Linked DNA regions of Homo sapiens: all the other regions are linked to region 2. Evidence: promoter capture Hi-C in 16 types of primary human blood cells and fetal thymus (Javierre and others, 2016). All regions are on one chromosome and are shown on one strand. The core of a region is centred on a gene start or on the middle of the fragment in contact, and the rest is flanking DNA. Distances in the headings are between cores, read along the strand shown. Region 1 holds the start of UBALD2 (UBA like domain containing 2). Region 2 holds the start of CDK3 (cyclin dependent kinase 3). Region 3 overlaps UBE2O (ubiquitin conjugating enzyme E2 O). Region 4 overlaps PRPSAP1 (phosphoribosyl pyrophosphate synthetase associated protein 1).

Evidence for each region. Contacts are between HindIII fragments. The CHiCAGO score rates a contact against its expected background, and 5 or more counts as called.
Region 1: a contact is called between the fragment with the promoter of UBALD2 here and the fragment with the promoter of CDK3 in region 2, in 1 of 17 cell types (endothelial precursors). The highest score is 5.1, in endothelial precursors.
Region 3: a contact is called between a fragment that was not itself captured here and the fragment with the promoter of CDK3 in region 2, in 1 of 17 cell types (erythroblasts). The highest score is 5.0, in erythroblasts.
Region 4: a contact is called between a fragment that was not itself captured here and the fragment with the promoter of CDK3 in region 2, in 5 of 17 cell types (naive CD4 T cells, naive CD8 T cells, M2 macrophages and 2 more). The highest score is 6.1, in naive CD4 T cells.

Annotation. Positions count from the first base shown.
Region 1 is chr17:76,263,998-76,266,841 of GRCh38, reverse strand. It overlaps UBALD2 (UBA like domain containing 2), which reads right to left and starts at 1,494. Exons shown (of 3, transcript NM_182565.4): 1 at 1,217-1,494; 2 at 873-935. The coding sequence starts at 1,336. LOC105371896 (a long non-coding RNA gene) reads left to right here and starts at 1,761. Exons shown (of 6, transcript XR_007065913.1): 1 at 1,761-2,844. RefSeq lists enhancers at 682-781, 2,042-2,091 and silencers at 952-1,091, 1,392-1,691. The HindIII fragment of the contact is 2,310 bases long and covers 142-2,451 here.
Region 2 is chr17:75,999,532-76,002,441 of GRCh38, reverse strand. It overlaps CDK3 (cyclin dependent kinase 3), which reads right to left and starts at 1,587. Exons shown (of 8, transcript NM_001258.4): 1 at 1,475-1,587; 2 at 901-1,030; 3 at 491-568; 4 at 300-420; 5 at 24-194. The coding sequence starts at 1,016. TEN1 (TEN1 subunit of CST complex) reads right to left here. Exons shown (of 4, transcript NM_001113324.3): 4 at 1,856-2,301. The coding sequence ends at 2,180. TEN1-CDK3 (TEN1-CDK3 readthrough (NMD candidate)) reads right to left here. Exons shown (of 10, transcript NR_037709.1): 4 at 901-2,301; 5 at 491-568; 6 at 300-420; 7 at 24-194. It overlaps LOC124904061 (a long non-coding RNA gene), which reads left to right and starts at 1,882. Exons shown (of 2, transcript XR_007065911.1): 1 at 1,882-2,637; 2 at 2,806-2,910. RefSeq lists a silencer at 1,701-1,780 and an enhancer at 1,911-1,960. The HindIII fragment of the contact is 39,600 bases long and covers 1-2,910 here.
Region 3 is chr17:76,440,484-76,443,431 of GRCh38, reverse strand. The region is part of intron 1 of UBE2O (ubiquitin conjugating enzyme E2 O); the gene reads left to right. Among named protein-coding and RNA genes, the nearest start is that of UBE2O, 11 kb to the left of the region's middle. RefSeq lists enhancers at 320-439, 1,864-2,381. The HindIII fragment of the contact is 1,459 bases long and covers 897-2,355 here.
Region 4 is chr17:76,330,356-76,333,285 of GRCh38, reverse strand. PRPSAP1 (phosphoribosyl pyrophosphate synthetase associated protein 1) reads left to right here. Exons shown (of 10, transcript NM_002766.3): 4 at 851-1,023; 5 at 2,620-2,735. Among named protein-coding and RNA genes, the nearest start is that of PRPSAP1, 22 kb to the left of the region's middle. The HindIII fragment of the contact is 1,467 bases long and covers 696-2,162 here.

The DNA of each region.
Region 1 (2,844 bases), core at 245-2,744, 260 kb before region 2:
ACAATGTTTTAAGATCCCTATCGCTGAGCCCTGCCCCTCCTCCCCCAGCAGGGCTAATAGGTAACTAGGGGGGTAGGGTACAGGAGAGATGTCCTGGGCCTCAAGAAAGCAGAGTACCCCATGGCCAGGAGGGCAAAAGCTTGGGCCTGGGCTAGAATGAAAAAGAAAGCAAATCCAGACCCCGGACCACTTCTCTGTGTGCTGGGCTGGTGGAGCTCAACACAGAGATTAAAGACACATTCCTGGCCTTATCTTGGGTCAAAATCTGTGTGTCCTCCTGGCTTGGGGGATGTATGTCCTTCCAACTTCCCAGTCCCCTTGGGCTTCGGAAGGTTGAACAGATCTTTGTGGGTAGAGCCCGGCTTCCTGAGCCAGGGTGGATTCATGCCTTTCCTGTTCCCTGTAGCGCTGGGTGTGTGTGTGTGTGGAGGGGGAGGGGGGAAACCACTCAACAGCACGAGGGGGTCCCCATAAACACAAGCACCCCCATCGCCCTCCCTGGGCCCTTCGCGCGGGCTTCCCAGTGCCCCAGACGTCCGGGCATCACCCTCTCCCCCTCCCCATCCCCTGGCTCTGGGGTCCCCCAGCTCCTGAGCCCCTCGCCAGGCCCCCGGCCCTCTCCCCCTCCCCCCAACTTTGGCGCCGCTTCCCCCCAGGGACCAGTGCCGGGCACCAGTCCCGAGGCCAAGCAGCAGCAGCCCGGGAGGCGGGCCTCAAAGTTGGAGGCGCCAGCGCCGGCCCGGGAGCCGCTCTTTCCTGGAAGACATTTTGGCTCTTTGTTTACATTCGCGGCGCGGCGCTCCCCGGCAACATGGCTGTCACCGCCGCGCTGACAGCGGCCCCGGCCCGCGCCCCTGCCCGCCGCCGCTTACCATCTGGTGGTGGTGGTGGCTGTTGGGAATGTTGGTTTCTTGGAAGAACGTGCTCAGCGCGGTCTGCGGACAAACAGGGCAGTGACACGGCGGGCCAGGCGGAGTCAGGAAACGCAGCGGCTGGGCCCCCCACCGGCTCTCCCCGCCTCCGCGCCCGGCCCGCGGCCCCCGACCCTCGGCTGCCCCACGTGCAGAGGGGAGCCGGTCCCGGCCCCGGTCCCGCGTAAGACCCGCTCGCGGGCGCCGATCGCCTTCCGGGCCGACAACAGGAGCGCTCCCCGCCCCCGCCGCCGCCCGGCGTCCCCGACCCCCGCGGCCCGGCCCCGCGGCGGCCAGGCTCGCACCTCGAACTGCCAGTGGGCCGCCTGCAGCAACTGCTTCGCCTGGTCGGCCGCGCAGCCCGCGGCCAGCACGAACTGGTTGATCATGACCTGGTGCCGCAGCTCGTCCATGTTCACCGACATGGCGCGGCGCGGCGCGGGGCCCGGCGTCTCCGGCCGGACGCAGACGCGGGGCTGCGCGGGCGCGGGAGGCCGGCCGCCCGGGGCTCCGGGGCTCGCGCTCACCGCTGCTGCCGCCGCTCCGCCGCCCGCTCCGCCGCCGCCCGCCCGGCGAATGTTGTGGTTCGACTCCCGCGGCCCGGCCGACACCACAAACAACAGCGCGGGGCGGGGCTGGGCCGGCCCAACGTTCGGGGACTGCCGCTGATTGGCCGGGGCGCCGCTCCGCCAGCGCCCGGCTCCCGTAAGGACGTTCGATTCGAATCCTGCGGCCTGTGGGGCCCTCACTGTTTCTCTTTTCGCCCGGCCGCGCCCATTGGCGGAGCTCGGCGCCGTGGGGCTCCCCAGCATTGGCCGGCCGCTGTGTTTTGGCTCATCCGGCCTCGTGGTTGGTCACGGCCGGGCGTTCGGGGCGGGGCCGCGCACTCTGATTGGCCTCCGGTGGTCCTGTTTGAACTCAACTTGAAAACCCGGAGTGCCTGCTGATTGGCCGAGGGCCCTCTGTTTGCTGTTGTAGGCTTGGGGGTGGTGCGGCCAAGTTCATTCATTACTTCATTGAAACAGAACATGCTCAGCTGGAAAAGCAAGACAGAGTGGCTTTGACTCATTTCCTCTGAAAGATGTGGTCATCTCGAGAAACAGAATGATCAAAATAGAAAACAGAGCCTTTGCAGCTGCTCAAGTCTCAAAAGCATGTAATTTTTAAAAATAACTTTCAAGCAGTCCAATTTAAAAAAATCTTTTATTGAAATATAACGTACATTAGGAAAGTGCGATGTCGCAGGTACAGCTTCCAGACTTTTCACCAAGTGAACACCCAGATCAATTAACAGAACGTTACTTGCACCCTAGGAACCCGCGTCCTGCCCTCTTCTAATCACTACCCACCGCAAGGATCGAGCAGTATTTTCTCAGTTTTTAGACCAAAGACTTTGCTCTCTGAAGATGGAAGCCAAGATTTATGTACAATAAATACGATATGCAAGGAAATATGCAAGGAAAAAAGTGAGACTTTCTCAGTGGCCAAAATGCCAAGTCAAGAATTTTTTCTTGTTAAATCGGTTGACCTAACTGAAGCTTTAATTTTCTTTTTTTTTTTTTCTCTTGCTTGTCACGAAAGCTAAGATGAAGCTTTAATTTCTACCATCTTTTAAAAAAACAACGGGTGGCAGTAGGGGTGGAGTCTGGGGTTGGGATGGCTTACACCTATAATCCCAGCACTTTGGGAGGCCGAGACAGGAGGATAACTTGAGGCCGGGAGTTCAACACCAGCTTGGGCAACATAGCACAGACTCCATCTCTACCAAATAAAAACAAACAATAACAAACAGTGAGTGTTTCTACAGAGATACTGTTTCTCAGTGGTAGCCCTTTAAAGTCCAAAATTTGGTGGTGGTGGTTGTTAGATAGGGCTAGAGTGACATGATCATGGCTCACTGTAACTTCGAGCGATCCTCTTGCCTCAGCCTCTC
Region 2 (2,910 bases), core at 338-2,837:
CTCTCCTCTTTGTCTCACAATACCTCATGGGTGTAGGTGCGCAGGGGCACCCCGAAGGCGCGAGCCAGGCCGAAGTCAGCCAGCTTGATGGCACCCAACTCATTGATGAGCAGGTTCTGGGGCTTCAGGTCTCGGTGGATGACCCGATGTGAGTGGCAGAAACTCACCCCCTGCAGCAGCTGGAAGAGGTAGCTCTGGAGAAACGAGCGCGAGGTGCAGCCAGCTGAGCGGAGGTGCTGCGTGGACAGGGATGGCAGGGATGGGGTGTCACCTCTCCTTCCCTGCCCTTCCTTCCCTACCTTGATGAGGTGCAGGGGGAGCTCTGAGCCTGGGGTGGAGTCCATGTACTTCTTCAGGTCCTGGCTGAGGAACTCAAACACCAGATAGAGCTTCCTCTCGTTGTGCACCACGTCCAGCAGTCTGACAGGGAGATGGCAGTCAGGATGCTACCTTCGCCATCCCAGCTTCCCCACCTCAATCCCCAACTCACCGGACGATGTTGGGGTGCTTCAGTTCCTTGAGCAGCGAGATCTCCCTGATGGCAGTGCTTGGGACCCCCTCCATCTCCCTGCAAGAAACAAGGGCACAGCCGTGGGCAGAGACTTGGGCCAAGAAGGGCACTTCCAGCCAGGGGGATCGGCTTCTCCTTAACCCCACAGAATGACCAGGGCCCCGGCAATGGAGACCTGTGCTCCTTGGCACGTCATCCACCAAACTCCACAGTCAGGGCCCCGGCAAAGGCTGGTCAGAAGGCAGTGAACTGGGGAGAGGACAGGTAAGGGCTGCTGGGCAGCACCCAGAGGAGTTAAACGTGGACTCCAGGAAAGAGGGAACGGATCAGGGAGCGCCCAGGTTGTGATGGCCCAGGGTGGGTAACTCAGGGGCCGTCCCAGCACTCACAAATCCAGTCTGATCTTCTTCAGGGCCACCAGCTGCCCTGTCTCCCTGTTCTTGGCCTTGTACACCACCCCATAGGTGCCCTCTCCGATCTTCTCTACCTTCTGGAACATATCCATGGCCACAGAGCTGCCTGGGAAACAGAAGGCACCGGGCAATTTGCACCCCACGCCCAGCGCTCCCGTTGCTCCTCCAGCTTCCATGTGGCGCCCTGCCCAGCCCAGCCCAGCCCAGACTGCCCAGCTCCCAAGGCCCACGGCCTAGCCACCCCAACCCCAGCTCATCCTGCCTGGGAACCTGGCTGGGGGTCGGAAACCGCCCCTCACCCAGCCCAGCCCGGACCCCAAGGGGGTCAGGGGGCCCCCTTCACCCAGCCCAGTTCAGCCAGGACCCCCAGGCTTCTCGCCCATGCCCGGCCTCGGAGGGCAGGGCCCACACTCTCCCACCCAGCCCCCTGCCCATCCCAGCCAGAACCCCCAGGAAGTCAGAGACCACCCCTCGCCCAGCCCAGCCCAACATGGACCCCCAGGCCTCTCACTTGTGCCGGGCCTTAGAGGGCAAGACCACCCTTTCCCACCTGGGTCACTGCCCAGCCCAGCCAGTCCCAGGCTCTGGGTACACATGGCGGCCAGGAAGGGCTGCCCAGGGGCCAGGGCCACTGGGGGCAGAGGTCAGGGGTCAGGAGGGTCTTAAAGCCACAGTCCTGTCTTAGGCTGCACGGTCAGGGCCCAGGGCCTCAGCCCGGCCCGTGTGACGACGCTCAGCCTCCTCTGAAGGCAGAGCCTGGCCAGGGGCAGACCCCTGCATCCTGGGCCCCCCACCCCAGCCCCTGGGCCCCTGGTGCCCTACCCTGAGGCCCCAGGCCCAGAATTCACCAGAAGCCCTGAGAGGCTGCAGCCCACAGCCTGGGTTGCAGCTCCCCCTCCTGGCCCCCGCCGGCGCTGCACCACGAGCACACTTCAAGAGCACGCCCCCTGGGCCTTTATTCACCAGGACCTTCTGGAACCCTCCATGGCCCCACACCAAGCACGGCCCCGGCGCCCAAGCTCGGCCACCTGCAGTCTCCTGGGGTGGGGCTGTCGGATTTATGGCATGCTTTCTGGGTTCTCATTGCTGAGCCAATCCCAAAGTAGGGGAAGGGGCTGGATTCATCACCCGCCCCTCGGCTTTCGAGCTCCAGACAAGGCCGTCGCTGGGGAGGCGTCTGTGCTCTCCCGGGCTCCTGCAGCTCCAGAGGGTTCGGGCTCTGAAGCAGGTGAGGGTGTTGCTAGGCTGCTGTTTCCTACTGGCTGCCGCCCCGCTCCTGCTTGTACAGTCTCTGCTCCCGGATGGCTTGTTCCAACAAGGGCAGGTTCATCCCCTCCACACAGGTCAGCACGCGCGCCTTCACCACGGAGCCTCTGTCTGCAAGACAAACACCAGGGCACGAACGGCGACTGAGCGGCGTGTCAACAACGTCCTCCAAGGTGCATTCCAGCTGTTCCCTCCACAGCTCAGTCCTGGGTTTTGGCAGCAAGTGATGTGGACAATAACAGCATATGGGGCAAAGGCAACTGAGTATTTGGGCCTAGAACCGTGGGCCTGTCATGCACAGTCGGCCCGTGTCTGGAACTTAGCAGGTGGTCAGAAAACCCCTCTGGACTGAGGGAAAGGCCCCCTTGGCACCTTGGGACACAATGTCATCAGGAACCGGGGAAAAGAGACACCCATATTTTAAAAATCCAAGAGACTGAGCTCCCGGTAAGTTTGGCTTTATAGGAGCAGGTCATCCCACCCTGGACGAGGGGGGCTTCTAGCAGATGCGGTGGTGACCTGATACATAATGGAAAGGTTTGCCACTATTCAGGTGGCACCAAACAGGAAAGACATCTCCGAGAGACTTTTTAAAAATTTTCTTTCTTTTGACAGGTGAACTGGCTCACACCTGTAATCTCAGCACTTTGGGAGGCCAAGGCATGTGGAACACTTGAGGTCAGGAGTTCAAGACCAGCCTGGCCAACATGATGAAACCCC
Region 3 (2,948 bases), core at 377-2,876, 440 kb before region 2:
CTGTGATCCCAGCTACTCGGGAGGCTAGGGCAGGAGAATTGCTTGAACCCAGGAGGCAGAGGTTGCAGTGAGCCGAGATCGTGCCCCGGCACTCCAGCCTGGGCGACAGAGTGAGACTCTTTCTCGAGGAAAAAAATATATATATATATTCCCCAACTTTTTTTGTTTTTGGTTCTGAACCCAAGACCCAACTTTTTAATAGGAAAAAATATTGACCATACCAAAATGTTGAAAGCCAGTAATTGCTAACCCCCAACCATTATGAGTCAGCAGTTGTTAACATCCTGCCATATTTGCCTTATCTGTATGCTTATGTAAATATATTTCCTCCTGAATTATGTCTGGTACTAACTCCTGCTAAGTTAGTGGCAGACATGATAGCACTTCACCCCTAAATACCTAAGCTTGAATCTTCTCAAAATTAGAGCATTTGGGGTCATTTTTAATTTACCTTCTTTGGCCCTCATTCTAACTTGTCATCAGTTCTTTGAGAGGCCTCTTGCATCCTGTGCCTGCATTTCCCTTTCACAACCCTGGTTTGCTCTCTGCTTGCCTCATGCCTGCACTGTGTAGCCTTCTCCCTGGTCTCCCTGCCTCTAGTCCTCCTTCAACCAGTGAACAGCGCTGCCGCCAACTGACCTCCAAAGGGCTGACCTCCCAAGTGATCGCCTGGATTGTGTCAGGACCCAGCCTCTGATCATGCCTTGGTTGTCATTCAGGGCCCCTCACCTACACATCCTGCTCTATCTCCTGCCTCTTCAGTTGATTCCAGCCAATCTGACTGCTTTTCCCCAACTCAATTGTGCCGTTCCCTTCCTCTCATGCCCCATGGCACACCCACATTCTCTCCTGGATGGGAAGCTCCTTGAGAAACAGAGACAGCAAATCCTAAAGCTTGTGTGCTATCACGCACATGCAGACTCTTGGGAAACATCTTCATGAATGACCAGTTTGCTCCCTCCCACTTACTACAAATAGTATTCTTAGTCTTCTTCCAGATGCCCTGTGGTCTGTGCTGGAGCTGTATGGGCCCCTTACTAGACCACTCTGTCTCCCACCCCCCGTACTAGGTGTGTTGACCATGTACAGTAATTTATTGCCCAAGTTGGGTTCTTTTGAGAGTACTATGAATAATTACTCCAGGACTGGGACGTATGGGCATCCTAATACTAGGAAGAGCAGATTAATCAGAATACACCATATTGTAGTTACTACTTTGGCAACTTCCGTCGCGGGCTCCCCAGGCAGACTACGTGCATTGTGGACTAGGCTAGAGCTAGCTAGAGCTGGTGTCACCTGTGGTCGAAATGAAGCTGCTTCTGGCTGCATTTCCCCTGTAAGAACCCCGCCTAAAGCACTTGACAAATGGCAGATTCCACACACGTGGGTTTCCTGAATGGTTATCAGCACCCAGTCCTCACCTTAGGAGGATGGCTAAGTACGAACGAGGCTCTCTATTGGAAAAAGAATGCCCCACCCGACTGCAAATGAATCAGGAACGCAGCTTAGGCTATGCACTCTGCCTGCACCAAGACCCTTGGGGGCGGGGCCTGGAGTTGCAGTGGCTATGCCAGGCCTATTACTTTGAAGGAGTCAGGAACCATCTATTGAAAGTAGATATAACCACCCCTGTTTATCAGTGGAGGGGGAGGGGGAAGTGAAGAGAGCATGAATAAATGGATTCTAATCCAGCACTTTTCCAAGGTGAATGCCACATGCCATCACCTAGGGTCTCCTAATGCAAATTGTCCTAATTCCATTGGGCTGAAGAATCTGCGTGTCTAACAAACTCCCAGTGACATTGATGCTGCTGGCTGGGACTGTCTTTTGAATTGCACTTATATGGGCCCTTCCAAACCTCGTTGATGTCAATGGGTTCAGTTTTAGTACGTCTTTGGTTCGAGGCTTTTTCTCTCCCCTCTGCTTATTCTTCTAGTGCCAGTGTTAATGAACCGGGAATTGTCCAAAGGTGGGCTGCAGGAGGGGCAGGAAAGGGATGAGGCGGACTCATCATCCGCCAGTGCTTTAGTGTTAGAAAGGCTTGCCTCTTTCTTCCTCCCCATTGCTTGCTGGTGGTTATTATTAATGCACTGCTGTTGCTAAGAAGTTTCATTTGATTTCATTTCATTTTAGGATGTAAATATGGTAGTTGTTTTGAGTATAACACACCCAATCCAAGAGGAGAATGATTATTCAGCATTTTAATGAAATTGCTGTCTTTTATCCAGCCAGTGTCAATGGATTCCTGCTGTGAGCCAGGCATGTTAACTCACACTTTACCTGTGTCATCTCACTTCCCTTAAAGTGGCCAGTGCCCCATTTTAGAAAAGGAAAGACTGAAACCCAGAGAAAGCTTATAACTCACCAAGGCCACATAGCAAGTGGGAGGCCAACCCAAATTCAAACTTAGGCCAGTTTGTGCTGCCCGAATGCAGGTTCTCTTCACTGACTACACGGGTGCCCCCTGCACTGTGCTGGGTGCTGTGGGGAGAGAGATACCCCCACACAGGCCCTGCCCTCTAGATAAGGGGCCAGCCAAACTTTCTGTAAAGGGCCAGATGATAAATGTCCTAGTGTTGCAGGCTATACTGTCTCCTTCACAACAACTCAGCTTTGCCATTATAGCACAAAAGCATTCAGAGGCAGTAAGCAAATGAATGGGCATGGTCATGTTCCAATAAAATTTTAAGAAACAGGCAGTAGGCTGGACATGACCTGCAGGCTGTAGTTTTCCCACCTCTGCTCTGGAAGGATCCTGAAAAATAGAGATACAATGTGAGCCACAGCTGAAAAAAGTAAATAGAGGCCAGGCATGGTGGCTCATGGCTATAATCCCAACACTTTGGGAGGCCAAGCCAGGCGGATCACTTGAGGCCAGGAGTTCGAGACCAGCCTGGGCAACATGATGAAACCCCATCTCTTCAAAAAGTACAGAAATCATCTTAGCG
Region 4 (2,930 bases), core at 180-2,679, 330 kb before region 2:
ATACAAAATTAGCCACGTGTGGTGGTGCACGCCTATAATCCCAGTTACTCGGGAGGATGAGCCAGGAGAATTGCCTGAACCTGGGAGGCGGAGGTTGCAGTGAACTGAGATCACACCACTGCAGTCCAGCCTGGGCGACAGAGTGAGACTTCATCTCAAAAGGTCAGGAGATGAAGACCATCCTGGCTAACATGGTGAAACCCCGTCTCTACTAAAAATACAAAAAATTAGCCGGGCGAGGTGGCGGGCGCCTGTAGTCCCAGCTACTCGGGAGGCTGAGGCAGGAGAATGGCGTGAACCTCGGGGGGCGGAGCCTGCAGTGAGCTGAGATCGCGCCACTGCACTCCAACCTGGGCGACAGCGAGACTCCGTCTCAAAAAAAAAAAAAAAAAATTATATTCCAAGACCTCCCCACACTCAATGGAAAGAGACCAAATCTTTCTGTTAATGGCAGCTAAATGGAAGGGCAGTTGGGTTTCCCTTGGCATTCAAGCTGGCCTAAGCCCAAATCCCTGGGAGGCTGCCAGCAGGTGTTGGGTAACTCTGGTCACCAGCAGTTGCTTCAGATGTCACTGCAGTAACGGGGTATGACACAGGAGACCCAGGCAAATGTGAGGGTGGGTTAACTGTGCTGTGAATAGGAGTAACCTCAGATGAAAGCTAGGGCTTACTCAGCTACAAAAAGTCAGAAAGCTTCCCCTGCCTTCATGAGGTGCCATTGTAAGCTAGTGTGATGGTAAAATTCCCACAACACCCATCTGGGCAGCCCATGTTAAGTTGATAAAGTCAAGATCTTTTCTAGGGTTGATACATGGAATTAATCCCCAAATACAAACTTTGACTGTTTCAGAGATGTGAATACAGCTGTGATGGAGTTGCTCATCATGGCTTACGCACTGAAGACTGCCTGTGCCAGGAACATTATTGGGGTCATCCCCTACTTCCCCTACAGCAAGCAGAGCAAGATGAGGAAGAGGGGTTCCATTGTGTGCAAGCTGCTAGCATCCATGCTGGCGAAAGCAGGTGAGTGTGCGCGGGGGCCCTGGGGTTCCAGCATGATCCTTTAGGGCTCTTTCCTAGTTGGACTTAGCTCATACCTCAGATATCCAATCTGGGATCTGAGTGTTTGTTTCCTTTTGAACAGTTTTGGCTAAGGATATGTGAGCTCGGTTAGAAATTCTTTTTTTTCCCTTATTCGCTTTGTCCTACTTTAGAATACCATTGCTTTAGTGTCTTCTCTTCTCTGTCATCTGTCACATATTTTCTATTTCATCTTGTCATCGCTAAATTCTTAGCTGGCAGTCTTGGCATTCTTATGTGATCTTTTGATCTTCAGGTCTAGATTTCTATATCTGCTTTGTTAGCTAAATTCCATTTTTGTTCATAGTATTCAAGCTGGATTTTCTTTTACTCCCTCTCCCCCACCCTTGCCTTTCTACATAGTGGCTCATTTTCATTGCTTTATTCTCCTTGTGTGGCGGGGGCACGCTTTCTGGCCTGTAAATCAATGTAATATTTTACAATTGGGTTTCTATTCATCTGATGTCTGTTCTAAAACTTTAACGTATATTTGGGTCCTCGGAAAGAAATGTATGGTCCTCCCTCAATGTCCTTATAGGATTGGTTCCAGGAACCCATCTCCCGCTTCCCCGGCTCCTCAGCAGATACAAAAACCCAAAGATACTCAAGTCTTCCATATAAAATGCCATAGTATTTGCATATAACCAACACAGTCATCTGTAGATTATTTATAAATACCTAATACCATATAAACACTATATAAATTGTTGTTATGCTGTCTTGTTTAGGGAATAATGATGAGAAAAAAGTTTCATACCTGCTCAGTACAGACACAACCATTGTAGGCCTAACTACCTTTTCAGTCTGTGTTTCGTTGAATCCACACGTGGAACCCATAGATCCAGATGGTCAACTGTATGTGAATTTCATCCTCTCCAAAAAACTATAGTGTTTCTGGAAAGAACAAGTAATACTGGTTCTACACCCTGGAAGTTTTGCTGTGACCTTTGACCATTTGCAATGTGTTTATATATATGTACCTTTTCCTCTTCAGTACTCTTGATTATAAGAGTATCTCTTCATTGTTTTTCTATAAGAATACTTGAAACATTCTTTGTTACATACAGAAATTATTCTAAGCTTCAATATCTTTGTGTTATATGAGTTTCTTTTCTTCTAATATGTATATTACTTTGCGTTTGTGTTCTTGCTACTTTTTGCCTTCGCTACAGTTCTTTATCCTTTCTTTTAAGATTCTGTAATCAAGGCCTTACTGTTTTTTCCATCTCTTCGGTATTAATTCCATATTCATATTTTTGCTTCTGCCACATTATTCTTTTCTCAATTTTCTGGACCAAGCCAAAAGTCAATAATTCCCACTTTCTTAGCTTTAGTTCTTTGTCCATGTGGAAGGTTGTAGCCTTCTCTACATTAAGGCTTTATTAAGGTTAACAATCAAGCCTGTGACTGCAGTGCTTAATCACAGTACCCCGTCTTCAGTCTGCTGGTAGGAAGCAGGAGTTGAGCATCTAGTTTAGGTCCACTGTAGCCATTTACCTGTAGGGGTGAACTTTGTAATTTTTTGTTTTAAAATTTCAGGTTTAACTCACATTATCACTATGGATCTTCATCAAAAGGAAATACAAGGCTTTTTCAGCTTTCCTGTGGACAACCTTAGAGCCTCACCTTTCCTGCTTCAGTATATCCAGGAAGAAGTGAGGAACCACCAGCAAACACCCCATTGTCCTCAAAAGAGATCTTATTTAGTTTTTCTCTGGTATCAGATTTCGTTACTGGAAGGCACATCAAATGAGCTCTCCCTTAAGTCACAATGCCTGAGGCAGCAGACAGGGTCAGCTTTAGTCGTGGACGATCATAGCTTTAAAAGACACTAAAAACAGATTTTTTTT